Linked DNA regions of Homo sapiens: region 2 is linked to region 1. The links are contacts of gene promoters, found by promoter capture Hi-C in human tissues and cell types (Jung and others, 2019). All regions are on one chromosome and are shown on one strand. Each heading gives the region's core, a stretch centred on a gene start or on the middle of the fragment in contact. The rest is flanking DNA. Distances are from core to core; before and after follow the strand shown.

Evidence for each region. Contacts are between HindIII fragments. The study calls those that stand out against the background at their distance.
Region 2: a contact is called between a fragment that was not itself captured here and the fragment with the promoter of KIF19 in region 1, in 2 of the 25 tissues and cell types used here (small bowel and stomach).

Annotation. Positions count from the first base shown.
Region 1 is chr17:74,322,551-74,330,079 of GRCh38, reverse strand. KIF19 (kinesin family member 19) reads right to left here and starts at 3,854. Exons shown (of 20, transcript NM_153209.4): 1 at 3,692-3,854; 2 at 1,575-1,655. The coding sequence starts at 3,730. RefSeq lists an enhancer at 775-1,689 and a silencer at 3,820-4,039. The HindIII fragment of the contact is 22,604 bases long and covers 1-7,529 here.
Region 2 is chr17:74,498,777-74,506,305 of GRCh38, reverse strand. No RefSeq gene overlaps it. Among named protein-coding and RNA genes, the nearest start is that of CD300LB, 29 kb to the left of the region's middle. The HindIII fragment of the contact is 5,799 bases long and covers 2,115-7,529 here.

The DNA of each region.
Region 1 (7,529 bases), core at 2,605-5,104:
TGCTGCTACCCATGGCTCTACTGTGCCCACAGTTCCATCATCACTGCTGAAGAAAGAGGCTTGAGTGGGCCCCTGCCCCTGGGGAGCCCAGAGGTAAACAGGCATTGGAAGTGTGCCATCTGCCTCTGGTTTGCTTATCCTGGGCCCAGGGCTTCATGAGTCCAGCCCGTGGGACCTGAGCCCAGGCCCATCAGGTGCTCACGTGTGCCTTTCTCTGCATTGTACAGTGCCACCCAACTTCTCTGAGCCATTAGCACATCCTACCACCACGATGCTCCTACCTGGGCACCAAGCCCACTCCTGTTGCCCCCACCACTGTGCCTGTGTACATCCCAGCACGAGTCCTCAACTGCCTACCCAAACAAACATCCTGGCCATGGTCTACAGAGTATGTGGTTTGGCCCAGCCCATTCACACCTCTTGCCCCTTACTCTCCTGCTTGAGCCACTCTGGCCTTTTCTCAGCTACCCAGTTGCATCCCAGTCCCTCTCACCACAGGCCCTTTGCACATGCAAGCCCCTCAGGTCAACATTTCTCCCCTCATGCATGCTACTAATGACCTCTTCTTCACCCCTTATGTTTTCAGCTCAAGCACAGTTTTTTTTTTTTTTTCTCTTTTTCTCTTTTTTTTTGAGACAGAGTCCCACTCTGTCACCCAGGCTGGAGTGCAATGGCGTGATGTCGGCTCACTGCAACCTCCACTTCCTGGGTTTAAGCGATTATCCTGCCTCAGCTTCCTGAGTAGCTGCGACTACAGGCACGTGCCACCACGCCCAGCTAAATTTTTGTATTTTCAGTAGAGACTGGGTTTCACCATGTTGGCCAGGATGGTCTTGATCTCTTGACCTCGTGATCTGGCCTCCTCGGCCTCCCAAAGTGTCAAGCACAGTTTCTTAAGGAAGCCCTCGCTGACCTCCAGGTTTAGGTCTTATCCCCTTCTTACCTACTCTCATGCCACTAAGCATTTCTTTGAAGCCCTTGTTAGCTGCAAACTCGTTTGTTTGTGATGCAATTCTTTGATGAATGCCTCATCTCTTCACACTAGACTTAAGGTAATGGAGAGAGGACAGGGCCTTTTCTGTTCACCACAGTTTCCCAGTTTCTAGAACAGTACCCAGCATGCTGCTGGTACTTGATACACACTTATTGCCTCGTGTGCCCTGCCTTCCTCATCCTGGTGACATGAGGACCAAGATTGCAAACAGAGAGCGAGGATTTTGCCACACGTTACACCCTAGAGGCGAGCTTTAGCTCTCAACCATATATATATGTGCTCTGTGGGCAGCAGGCATATTAGGGTGGGAAAGTCAAGCAATGAGCATGTGAAAGGTAAAGGATCAGGGCCCACCCAGGCTAGGGAAGCTCCCAGTTGTCCTTGGATCAATCTAGGAAGGCTTCCTGGAAGAAGAGCCCCCAGCTTCCTTGGTGATGTCATCAACAGCACAGCCAAGAGTTCAGTGAGTAGAGGAAGGAGGGTGCTGCAAGCCACAGGGGCCCTTTCTGCCCTCACCAGGTGAGCTGAGCCATCTGAGCAGACCTCTGCCCTGCAGCTCCTGCTGCAGAGCCCTGCATACCTGCTCATCCACTTTATGGGCGATGAGGGTAGCTCCTTCCTCCAGCTCTGCCACGCTGATGGGCCGGACCCGAAGCGCCACCTGGGAGGGAAAACCAAGCCCCTGGGATTAGAGGGAGAGGACCATGCTGGGCCTCAGAGAGACCTCAAGCAAGCCCCTGGCTTCTCTAGCATTCAGCCATCTCAGGCCTCCCTTGTCCTAAGTAAAACTCTACCTAGGTCAGAGGGCAGCAGGTCCACAGAGTGTTGGACTGTGTCTGAGTTGATGAGTCTCCCCAGGAGCCCTGGCCTCCGGGAGAGCCCCAGGGGAGAGAGCTGTCTGCTCCTCCAGCCTGCCTCAGCCTCACGCCCAAATAAAACACTCGCAGCTCCCCTGGGCTTGAACTTGGGGCCCTGGCACTGGAGCAGCCTCTCTGTGTTTCCGCGAATGACGTGCTGCAGAGGAAGGTGCAGGCACGGCTCTGGGATGAGGCCTGGTAGGTGGGATGGAGCAGGGAATGTCCCCCATCATCCCAACAGCCTGTGACCACATTCCTACACCGAGGAGAGTGTCACCTAGAGCGCCCACCCCCATCTGCCTGTCCTCCAGCCAGTGTGAAATGGGTCTCATCCTGTGCGTGGATCTCCCTAAAGAACAGGGTGGAGTGGGGAGCACGTCTTGTGCTGATCAAAGGGCAACAGCTGCTGGGTGTGGGGATAGAATGAACGGCCCTCTGGCCGAGTGAAGACTCCTTCAGGCCTGGCGTGGTGGCTCACGCCTGTAATCCCAGCACTTTAGGAGGCCGAGGTGGGCGGATCCTGAGGTCAGGAGTTCGAGACCAGCCTGGCCAACACGGCGAAACACCGTCTCTACTAAAAATACAAAAATTAGCTGGGCGTGGTGGTGCATGCCTGTTATCCCAGCTACTCGGGAGGCTGAAGCAGGAGAATCGCTTGAACTTGAGGGGCAGTGAGCTGAGATCGCACCACTTCACTCCAGCCTGGGTGAGAAAGTGAAACTCCGTCTCAAAAAAGAAAAACAAAACAAAACAAAACAAAAGGCACTTTCAGAGGGAACTACACTACCTGACGGGTCACCTTTAGTGGCATCTTCAGCCAAATTCCACTGGCGGGAGGGGAGGACCCTTCATCCCTGCTCCCCGGGGCACACAATACATGCCAAGGCCAGTGATTTTCAAAGAGACACATTCTAAAAAGCCAGAGAGGATGTCCTAGAGCCCAGGGCTTGCTTGGGGGCTGGAGCTGAGGCTCCTTTCAGAGAAGCAAGCCCACCCTTGAGAGGTAGGGGACTCTGGGAGCAACATTATCCTCCAGTTACCTTACTGCCCACCTTCTGGTGATGAGGGCCCTTCCCCAGACCTCAAAAATTAGGGGATGAGGAAGGGGCTTGCTGAGAGAGACACCCACCCACCCACAGCCTAGTGGTGGCCTCGAGGTCACTGAGTCATCTCCCTTGTTGCTCTGGCCCAGGCACCACTGATGATCAGGAATTCCACCTTCCCCTCCACAGCCCCCACTCTCACCTCCCCATCTGTCCCAGGCCCCAGGGCTCTGTGGGGCCATGGTAGCTGCATCTAGCACTTCTCTGAACTACTTCGAATCCGGACTTGGGCAGCATCCGTGTTGCAGCCCAAGAACCAGGCACTCCGGGCCCCATCCTGACACCAGGGGCCCTTGTCTTCCTACTGGTGACCCCCACATCCCTTTAAACTCCTGACCTCACCAGGGCTGGAGCAGCCTCTGATTAACTGGGAAACCGCCACCCTCCTTCTGGGGGCAGTTAGGTCAAGCCCTCCCTGCCCCTGGCGTTTCTGGATGAGAGAGCCGAGATTCATCTGCGCACGCTTTGGGGGCGGGATCTCCCAATGGGAGGGTGGAAAGGTGGGGGTGGGGTTGAAGTTGGGGTAATTTTCAGGCTCAGGAAAGTCTAAAAAGGCCATGGTCCCTTCTTGACACCCATCCTGCAGGACTTGGGGAAAGTTGCTCTGAAGAGTCCCGGCCCTGGTCGTTGCCTGTCCTCTCAGTGGGGTGGCGGCGAGGGGACAGGACTCTGTCGCTGGAGGCCGACTGAAGTAGACCACGGAGCGGGGTGGGGAGGAGGGTCTAAAAGGGTCTCACCATGAGTTGCTGGTCCTTGGAGTCCCCGCTGTCCTTCATGATTGCAGCAGGTGGAGGGGCTCAGGCCGCGCCACCGGGCATGGCTCAGCCGCACCCCCACCGCCTCCGGGTCGCGTCCGCCAGCTGCTAGCTGCCCGCCGCCTCGCGCGCTGCCTGACAACCCGAAACCAACAACGCGCCAGCGGCTAAGGACGCCGACCCGAGGCGGGGCAGGGGGAGGGCCCGGACGGCGCCGCCCCGCCCCCGGCGCCCGCCCCTCCCCGCGCTGAGGGTGAGAGTTGGCCGCCTCCGCCGAGGAGGCCCCCGAGCCTGAACCGCTGCGCGACGATGTGTGCCCGGCTGTGCGGCCCTGCGGCCCTCGGTGCGTCCGTGCGTCCGCCTGGCGCCTCCGTGTCAGTTCGCTAACTCCTGCGCGCCCACCCGCGCCCCTCTGCTCGCGGCGCGACCCCGTGCCACTGCCCTTTAGGGAGCGCCCCAGCAGCCACGCTGCCCCTTGAAGCACACGCATCTGCCGCTGTCTCTGGGGTCTCCAGGGCGGCGGCTGGCAGCCTCGGGTTTCCGTGGGCGCCGCGTGCATCGCAGCAGGTGCCTGTGCTGTGAGTGTCTGCACCCACTGCCCACTGGCATGGGTGGCAAAAAGTTGTCCCTTTGCTCAGGCCGCCCAGCACCTCTGTTACCTGGGGTGTGCTACAGAAGAGCCTGACTCAGTGCGACCCACTAGCAAACAAGTCTCTACCCCTGAACCCAGAATCTAGGTCACGATGGCTGGGTCCGTGTGCCCTGCTGGCTCCCCGCCTGCTGCTGGAAGAGCCACAATACTGTGCAAGAAAGTCTAGGTCTGACGCTACCGCCTCCATTCTTGGCGACAATAACAACGGTTGCACTCCCAGGGAACACAGGGGAAAGGTTCCTGTCCTCAGGAGGCCCTGGGAAAACTTGGATTCTGGTCCCAGTTCCGCCTCCAACTCGGCCAGCCACCTGGAGCTGGTTTTTCCTGCCTCCCTGGGGCCTCAGTTTCCTGGGGGATGTTGGAGCCTCTCCCAATTCTGATGTCCATCCTCTGTGTCCTCTGCCCCCACCGAAGCTGAGCCCGGCAGCCCCAAGACTGGGAGAGGAAGCCACGATGGGTTTCACTTTCCAGGGAAGGGGCTGGGAAAGGAAGCACTCATGTCCCCAGGGCTGCCTCAGACTGCCTGGGGTCCCTCAGAGGCAGAGTGTGATGCCAGCCTGTGCCCTGGGACTGGCTTCCCCGGCTGCCCCTGAGGAGCCTGTGTTGGGAATCGTTATTAATAAACAGCAGCAAGAAGCAGCCGTCAGCCTTGGGTTTAATAAATAGATAAACCAAGTAAAACTTGGTGGAAACCAAACTCTCCTGCCCGGGATCCCAGGTTTTGTCCTGTTCCTTGGCCTAGGCTGTAGGCTGGACAGTTTGCAAATGGGCATACTGTGACAAGAATCGGGTCGGGTTTTTTGTTTTTGTTTCTGTTTTTTTATGACAGAGTTTCACTCTGTCACCCAGGCCGGAGTGCAGAAGCACAATGGCACGATCATGGATGGCTCACTGCAGCCTCAATCCCTCAGGCTCAAGTGATCCTCCTGCCTCAGCCTCACAAGTAGTTGAGACTACAGGTGCGCACCACCACGCCTGGCTAACATTTTGTATTTTGTAGAGACAGGGATCTCACTGTGCTGTCCAGGCTGGTTTTGAACTCCTGGACTCAAGCAATCCTCCCACCTCAGCCTCTCGAAAGAGAATCGGGTAAGTTTTAGGGGTGTGTTGTGCTTGCATTTTAGGCTCCTGAAAAGAACCTATTTGGATCAATCAAACAGGCCCCTGGTCAACTGGGCTGTCACTATTTTTCTTTTTCTTTTCTGTTCCTCCACATGCATCAGTCCCACCCAGAATGCCCCATAGTTATTTTTGTTTTTGTGGGGTGTTTTTTGTTTTTGTTTTTGTATTTTTGAGACAAGGTCTTTCTCTCTTTCTCTTTTTTTTTCTTCTGCCTCCCCACCCCTCAAGACAGGGTCTCACTCTGTGGCCCAGGCTAGAGTGCAGTGGTGCCATCACAGCTCACTGTAGCCTCAACCTCCTGGGCTCAAGCGATTCTCCTAACTCAGCCTTGGGAGTAGCTGGGACAACAGGCGCATGCCATCACGCCTGGCTCATTTTTTTTTTTTAATTGTTGTAGAGGCAGGGTCTCAAACTCCTGAGCTCAAGCAATCCTCCTGCCTCAGACTCCCAAAGTGCTGGGATTACAAATGTGAGCCACTGCGCTGGGCCTATAGCGATTGATGGGTAAAAATAAGAAGCTTCTTGGCTGGGCGCAGTGGCTCATGCCTGTAATCCCAGCAGTTTGGGAGGCAAAGGCGGGCAGATCAGTTGAGGTCAGGAGTTCAAGACCAGCCTGTCCAAATGGTGAAACCCCGTCTCTACTAAAAATACAAAAATTAGCCAGGCATGGTGGCAGGCACCTGTAATCCCACCTACTCGGGAGGCCGAGGCAGGAGAATTGCTTGAGCCCAGGTGACAGAGGTTGCAGTGAGCTGAGATCGTGCCATTGCACTCCAGTCTGGGCGTCAGAGTGAGACTCCATCTCAAGAATAAATAAATAAATACATAAATAAATAAGAAGCTCCTAAGTAACAAGTCCCCACCCATCTTACACGAAGACTCATCACAAAGTCAGGTATATTCTCAAACAATGTCCTCTGCCTGACTTTTGGGTTTTGTCAATTAAACCACCATCCCCTTTATTTTATTTTATTTATTTATTTATTTTGAGACGGAGTCTTGCTCTTTCGCCCAGGCTGGAGTGCAGTGGTGCGATCTTGGCTCACTGCAAGCTCCGCCTCGCGGGTTCACGCCATTCTCCTGCCTCAGCCTCCCGAGTAGCTGGGACTACAGGCGCCCGCCACCACGCCCGGCTAATTTTTTGTATTTTTGGTAGAGACGGGGTTTCACCGTGTTAGCCAGAATGGTCTCGATCTCCTGACCTCATGGTCCACCCGCCTCAGCCTCCCAAAGTGCTGGGATTCTAGGTGTGAGCCACCGCGCCCGGCCCACCATCCCCTTTATACCCATTGCCTTTAAGGCATTTTTTACCGCATCTTTTTTTCTCATCTTCTACATTCAACTCCTGCAGATTCTACTTCTGCAAATATTTCTTCTCTTCATCGTCTCTTGCCATTCCCTGGGCTCCAGTTTTTACCCCTTCTCACCTGGACCATGTCATGGCCTCTTGCTATGCCCTGGCCCCACCGTTTTTGTTGTTGTTATTTGTTTGTTTTTTGAGATGAAGTCTAGCTCTGTCGCTCAGGCTGGAGTGCAATGGCGCAATCTTGGTTCACTGTAATCTCCGCCTTCCGGATTCAAGCGATTCTCCTGCCTCAGCCTCCCAAGTAGCTGGGATTACAAGCACCCACCATCACGCCTGACTAATTTTTGTATTTTTAGTAGAGACGAGGTTTCACCATGTTGGCCAGGTTGGTCTCGAACTCCGGACCTCAGGTGATCCACCTGCCTTGGCCTCCCAAAGTGCTGGGATTACAGGTGTGAGCCACCGTGCCTGGCCCCAGCCCCACTTTTGAAAGGGGAAGAGATCTGTCAGGCAGAGATCTTTGAAAGGGGAGCGATCTGACAGGCAGAGACCTCCTGTGTTCTCTAACACAGAAGTAAAGGCAGACACTTTACTCTCCACAACCCCTTTCAGCCTCCTGCCCGGCTTCATTTAAACTCATTCTGCTCTGTGGGCTCGGCCTTCCACTCACCTTCACCACTTGCTTATTCCCAAATGTATGCTAGAGCCAGGTCCTACACTGGGGCCTTTGCTCATGCCAG
Region 2 (7,529 bases), core at 3,765-6,264, 180 kb before region 1:
GTGGGATTATCATTAGTTCTTACAGGTTTGGGATAGGCATAAAAAGTACATTCTCAAGGGCGGGGAGAATATTACAAAGTACCTTCTTAAGGGCAGGGGAGAATATAGCGTATCAGTTAGGGTGGGGCAGGAACAAATCACAATGGTGGAATGTCATCAGTTAAGGCTATTTTCACTTCTTTTGTGGATCTTCAGTTGCTTCAGGCCATCTGGATGTATATGTGCAGGTCACAGGGGACATGATGGCTTAGCTTGGGCTCAGAGGCCTGACATTCCTGTCTTCTTATATTAATAAGAAAAACAAAACAAAATAGTGGTGAAGTGTTGGGGTGGCGAAAATTTTGGGGGGTAGTATGGAGAGATAATGGGCGATGTTTCTCAGGGATGCTTAGAGTGGGATTAGGGGCAGCATGGGAACCTAGAGTGGGAGAGATTAAACTGAAGAAAGATTTTGGGGTAAGGGGTGATATTGTGGGGTTGTTAGAAGTAGGATTTGTTGCACAGAATGATTGGTGATGGACTGTATGTGTTTTGTATGAATTGAGAAGCTAAATGGAAGACACAAGGTCCGAATAAAAGAAGGAGAAAAATAGGTATTAAAGAACTAAGAATTGGGAGTACCCAGGACATCCAATTAGACAGTGTCCAAGGGGGATCAACGCAATTATTTGCTTGGTTAGTGAGTTTTTGGGCTCTATCCTTGAGTTTTTTTATGTTGTCATATACCAGGCCAGACTGATTTAGGTAAAAACAACACTGTTCATTTAAAAATATACAGAGTCCCCCTTTTTTTAGCAGTGAGTAAGTCGGGGCCTCATTGATTTTGGAGGAAAGAGAAATGTAAAGCCAGCAATTGTTTGTTAAAGAAGGATTAGAAACAGCTAGGAGAGAGTGAGTGAGATTGATAGTGTGGTGGAGATAGCTGCGAAGAGGTAGAGAGGGTGGCATAAGAACGGGAACAAGAATAAGAGTGAGTATAAAAGTAAAGAACAGGACTTCATAAGGGTGAGAGTATTGGAGTGTGTCCTGTCAGCAAAGATCATCTACCCACTCCAAGAGGGAGTCAAGAGTGGTGGATTGGGGATAGATTTTCACAATGGAAAGGAAATGAGAGTTTTTAAGAGGCGGGCTAATGGCTTGTAACCTACATGGAAGAGGTTATGAAATGACGACAGGAATAGAATGGGCTAGTGAGGCTTGAAGGAGATTTTTTTTTTGTCTAAAAACCATCTGCCTTGAGTGGAGAGGGATTGATAGGTGGAAACTTCAGTGGGACAGTAAATAGGAGTGACCAATGAGGAGAAAAACTGGCCATCAGGGACAGAAGTTGGAAAACTAGCTGCCTCTTTAGCTACCTTATCAGCATAAGAGTTGCCCTGAGCAATGGGATCTGATGCCTTTTGATGGCCCTTGCAGCGAATGACTCCAGCTTCCTTTGAAAGTAAAGCAGCTTTAAGAAGAGGTTTTATTAAGGACACATTAATAATGGAGGACTCTTGTGTAGTGAGGAAATTTCTTTCTGCCCATGTAACAGCATGGTGGTGCAGGATATGGAAGGCATATTTAGAGTCAGTATAAATATTGACGCGTAGTCCCTTTGCAAGAGTGAGGGCCTGAGTTAAGGCAATGAGTTCGCCTTGCTGAGAGGGAGTGGAGCAGGGCAGAGCAGTAGCCTCAATGATAGATGTGGAAGATACTATAGCATAGCCTGCCTTTGCTGATGAGTGGTGATTAGGCCTGGTGGAACTGCCATCAATAAACCAAGTGTGATCAGGGTGAGGAATAGGAAAGAAGGAAAGATGGGGAAATGGAATAAATGTCAGGTGGATCAGAGAGATAGAGTCATGGGGGTCAGGTGTGGTATCCAGAATAATGTGGGAGGCTGGATTGAAGTCTGGGCCAGGAACAATGGTAACTGTGGGAGACTCAACAAAGAGTGAGTATAGCCAAAGGAGCCGGAGGGCAGAAAGTATATGCATCAGGTGGGAGGAAGAAAATAGATTTTGGAAGTTATGAGAACTGTACGGAGTGAGTTGAGCATAGTTTGTGATTTTGAGGGCCTCTAAAATATTAAAGCAGTGGCAGCCGCTGCACGCAGACATGAGGGCTAGGCTAAAACAGTAAGGTCAAGTTGTTTGGACAGAAAGACTACAGGGCGTGGTTCCAGCTCTTGTGTAAGAATTCCGACCACACAGTCCTGTACTTCAGCTGTGTGTAATGAAAAGGGTTGGGATGAGTTTTTTAAGGAATGGAAAGAGGAGTGGGGAAAGGATTTAGGATCTATGGGGTCAGCTACATTTATCTAGAACAGAATAATGGGTTGTGGAGGGAGGTATTGAGGATAGGAGAGTATATGGGTTTGGCATCACGGTGTGGATAGGCAAGACAATTTGGTTGATAAGGTGCAGATCCTGAACTAACCTGTAAGACTTTTCCGGGTTTTGGACAGGTAAAATGGAGGAATTGCAAGGAGAGTTTATAGGCTTTAGAAGGCCATGCTGTAGCAGGCCAGTGATAACAGGCTTTAATCCTTTTAAAGTGTGCTGTGGGATGGGATACTGGTGTTGAGCGGGGTAAGGGTGATTAGGTTTTAATGGAATGGTAAGGGGTGCATGATCGGTCACCAAGGAGGGAGTAGAGGTGTCCTATACTTGTGGATTAAGGTAGGGAGACACAAGGGGATGATGCGAAGGAGGATTTAAACTGGGGAAAAGGGCAGCAATGAGGTGTGGCTATAGCCCAGGAATAGTCAGGGAAGCAGACAATTTAGTTAAAATGCCTCACCTAATAAGGGAACTGGGCAGGTGGGGATAACTAAAAAGGAGTGCATAAAAGAATGTTGTCCAAGTTGGCACCAGAGTTGGGGAGCTTTAAGAGGTTTAGAAGCCTGGTCGTCAATAGCCACAACAGTTATGGAGGCAAGGGAAACAGGCCCTCGAAAAGAAGGTAATGTGGAGTGGGTAGCCTCCGTATTGATTAAGAAGGGGATGGGCTTACCCTCCAATGTAAGAGTTACCCAAAGCGTCTGTGATGGTCCAGAATGCTCCCGAGGCACCTCATAAATATATACACCTACTATGACCCAGAAAAACTAAAAATAAAAAAAGCTAAAAAAATCAAGGGTCTCACTAACAGGCTCATTTTAACTAAAAGGGGGCAGCAAGGTGGACTTTTGAGCTAAGCAGTGTTGTGGTCAAATACTGAGTGAGTCACTTAACCTTCTCCCTTCGCTTCTGATCCAGCACAGTGGCGCCTAGGACTATGCATGGGACACGAGGGGTTACTCAATCAGTGATGTAGAGACAGCTGGCTAAGTCTTATACAAACTCAAGTTCTGTTCATACCGCACTCTGTAAGCCAAAATAGTTTCAAATGGATCAAAGATTTAAATACGAAGAAACTACACAAGTTTTAGAATAAACTGAAATCTTTCTAAAGTCTTAGACTATTTAAAAGTTTTAGAATAAACTGAAAACTGCAAGTTTTAGAATAAACTGAAAATATAAAATGAAATTTACAAAAGTTTTAGAATAATGGGTGAATTTATTAGACTCTTGAAATGGAGCATCCTAAGGAAAACTCAAACTTTATAAAGCAAATGATTGAGAAATCTGACCTCAGAAAAAAGATGAAACATCACTGGGTGAAAACACCTTTGAAAGTTTTTTAAAAAATGACAAGCTATGAAGGAAATGTTGCAGGCAATTTGACAGAGAGCTTATTTTCTTAATTTACAAAGCACTCGGAGGAACTCAGTAAGATAGATTAAAAGCTCAATGGCAAAATGGGCAAATGGATAGTTCACAGGAAAAAAACTAAAATGGCAAATAAAGGAATGCAAATTCTGAAAATTATAAGATATTATTTTCTTCTATCAGATTGAAAAGAAAATAGAGTGTGAAAATATCCAATACTGGCGAGAGTGTAGGGAAAGGGACATCGTTGAGTGTTCTTGATGGGAAGGTAAGTGGGTGTAAGGTACATGGATGTGCTTTGGTCAAGAATAGGTTAGCCAGGTGCGGTGGCTCACGCCTGCAATCCTAACACTTTGGGAGGCTGAGGCGGGTGGATCACCAGAGGTCAGGTGTTTGAGACCAGCCTGGCCAACATGGTGAAACCCCATCTCTACTATAAATACAAAAAAAAAAAAAAAATAGCTGGGTGTGGTGGCTCGGGAGGCTGAGGCAGGAGAATCGCTTGAACCTGGGAGGCGGAGGTTACAGTAAGCCGAGATTGCACCATTGCACTCCAGCCTGGGCGACAGAGCGAAACTCCGTCTCAAAAAACAAAAACAAAAACAAAAACAAAACAGGCAGAGGCAAACATCAGGGCCAGCGTGACTCAGGGAGTCTGGCGCGCAGGCGCATAACTCCACTTGTTATGTAATCTGTTTGTGTAAGTGGCTCAGAGCCACTATTGTCTGTAAAAGGTATAACTGCCCTGCTGACGCTGTACATGTGGTTCGGCATGGCTTGTGCCCAGAGGCAGAGAGTAAAACTGCTGACCCCATAAGGGAGAGCCAGGCTTGTAGGCCAGGGAATGCAGCTGTAAGCCTGGGAATGGCAAGAGCCGCAAAGCTGGAGCAGGCAGCCGAGATAAAGGTGAATTGTATGAGAAAGCTTCTGATGAAACTATCACAAGGACAGAAAACCAAACACCGAATGTTCTCACTCATAGGTAGGAATCGAACAATGAGAACACTTGGACACAGGGTGGGGAACATCACACACCGGGGCCTGTCAAGGGGTGGGGGGCTGGGGGAGGGATAGCATTAGGAGAAATACCTAGTGTAAATGACGAGCTGATGGGTGCAGCAAACCAACATGGCACATATATACCTATGTAACAAACCTGCACATTGTACACATGTACCCTAGAACTTAAAGTATATAAAAAAAACTGCTGATGAAAAAGCTGCTGAATAAAACCATATTTTACCTGCCTACAGCCCCCTAAATATTCCTTCCGCTATTCGCCACCCATCCACCCACTCCCCTCAGACCTCAACATGGGCTGGAACCTGACGCTTGGCATGACAGTGGGCAAGAGCTTTTTGAAGGAAAATTTGTCAAGATCTATTAAAAAAAAGTCAATTCATGGACCTTTTGACTAATGCTCCACTATTGGAAATTTCTCCTAAAGATATACTCAGATAGGCCAGGCGTGGTGGCTCACGCCTGTAATCCCAGCACTTTGGGAGGCTGAAGTGGGCAGATCACGAGGTCAGGAGATCGAGACCAGCCTGGCCAACACGGTGAAACCCCATCTCTACTAAAAATACAAAAATTAGCTGGGTGTGGTGGTGCACGCCTGTAGTCCCAGCTACTTGGGAGGCTGAGGCAGAAGAATCGCTTGAACCCGGGAGACAGAGGTTGCAGTGAGCCAAGATCACACCACTGCACTCCAGCCTGGGCAACAGAGCAAGACTCTGTCTCAAAAAAAAAAAAAAAAAAAAAAAAAAAAGATATACTCAGATATATACCAAGATACAGGTACAAAAATACAAAAACATGGTCTGGGATGACATAACAATGTGTGCATCTGTGCATGTGTATACACACGCAGTCATACATGGGGCCTTGTATGACACACAGATACATCGGCATGCATTGTGCACCTACAGCTCCAGTCCCTCCCCCAGCGCCTGACTCATACAGCCAATAGGGGGCTTGTCATCTTTATTTGAGCATCTGTACGCCCAACAGAGTCCCTGTTTCCTCTCCCCAATTCCACCCCAAAACTGCTGCTCTCTTAGTCTTTCCATTTCCGTAAAGGGACCCACCTTTACTGCCCTCCCAATTGCTCAAGTGAAAACCGTAGAAGTCACCTGCAATTTTTATTCCTTTCTTTTCACTCCCTCCCACATCCAATCCTTCAGCCTGTTGGGTTGGCTCTACGGCCAGAATGCATTCTGAGCTTGTCCACCTTCTCCAATGGCCACATCCACCACCCCATTCCAAGGTGCCATTGTGTGACTCCCTTGCTTGAAATTTTTCAGAGTTTCCACTTAGGACAAAATCCACACATTTGCGTATTAACCCTTCCCTGATCTGACCACTGCCTGCCTCTGCCTTTCTGCGTCTGCCTCCCACCAAGCTCCCCACATTGTCTACTCTGTACTCATCTGGCCGGCACCCTAAGCCTGGGACACACTAGCCTTGTTCCCCCTTAGAGCCTTTGCCTGAGCTGTTTCCTCTGCCAGGAATGCTCTCACTCTATATTATTGTGTGGCTGGCTCCTTCTCAAGTCTCAGCTCAAATGTCAGGAAGTCCCTCCATGACCTCCCTATGCAAGCAGCCCTTCCTGCCTCTCATCACTCTCAGCTGTACACAATTCAGATCTTCACACAGCAGTTCTGTGATGATCTGAACGAAGCTTGCTTTTGTTTTGTTTGTTCTGTCTACTGCCCACTAAGATACAAGGACCAGACAGAAGGGGCCTCATTTATCTTCTTCACTGCTATGTCTCTGCTGTATAGCTCCATGGTATATAGTAGGTATTCAATAAAAGTCATCAAGTAAATGAGTAAATAACGGAATGAATTAAAACTGTGGAATCACATATAAAAGAATGAGGTAGATTTGTGTGTACTTGTATAACAAGGTCTCTAGGACATATGCAAAAGTGAGGTATGAAGAATTATGAGCCCCTCCCCCCACTTTTTTTGGAGATGGAGTCTTGCTGTGTCGCCCATGCTGGAGTGCAGTGGCGCGATCTTGACTCGCTGCAACCTCTGCCTCCTGAGCTCAAGCGATTCTCCTTCCTCAGCCTCCCAAGTAGCTGGGATTACAGGTGTGTGTCACCACACTTGGCTAATTTTGTATTTTTAGTAGAGACAGGGTTTCACCAAGTTGGCCAGGCTGGTCTTGAACTCCTGACCTCAGGTGATCCGCCTGCCTCGGCCTCCCAAAGTGCTGGGATTACAAATGTGAACCACTGCGCCTGGATTAGCCCTTTTGAAAATAATTTTGAAATAATAATAAGTTTTCTGAAAGCTGTGTAAGAAATGGCTAACAGTAGTCACTTTTGTGGAATGGTACTAGGGGTAGGGTAGGAGGAAGGAGACTTTTTTGTTAATTTTATAACTTCCTGTACTGTTTTAATTTTCTGTCCATTGCACATGGGTTTAAAATTTTTTTTTTTTTTTGTCCTGAGATGGAGTCTTGCTCTGTCACCCAGGTTGGAGTGCAATGGCGCGATCTCGGCTCACTGCAACCTCTGCCTCCCAGGTGCAAGCAATTCTCCTGCCTCAGCCTCCCCAGTAGCTGGGATTATGGGAGCTTGCCACCGCGCCTGGCTAATTAAATAATTTTTACTTTTCTTTTTGTGTGTGTGTTAAGAGACATCATCTGGATATGGAACGATACACACTTTTCTGAATTAATGTTATTCTTTTTGTTGTTATTGTTGATTGTTTGTTTTTGAGATGGAGTCTCGCTCTGTCACCCAGGCTGGAGTGCAGCGGCATGATCTTGGCTCACTGCAACCTCCGCCTCCTGGGCTCAAGCGATTCTCCTGCCTCAGCCTCA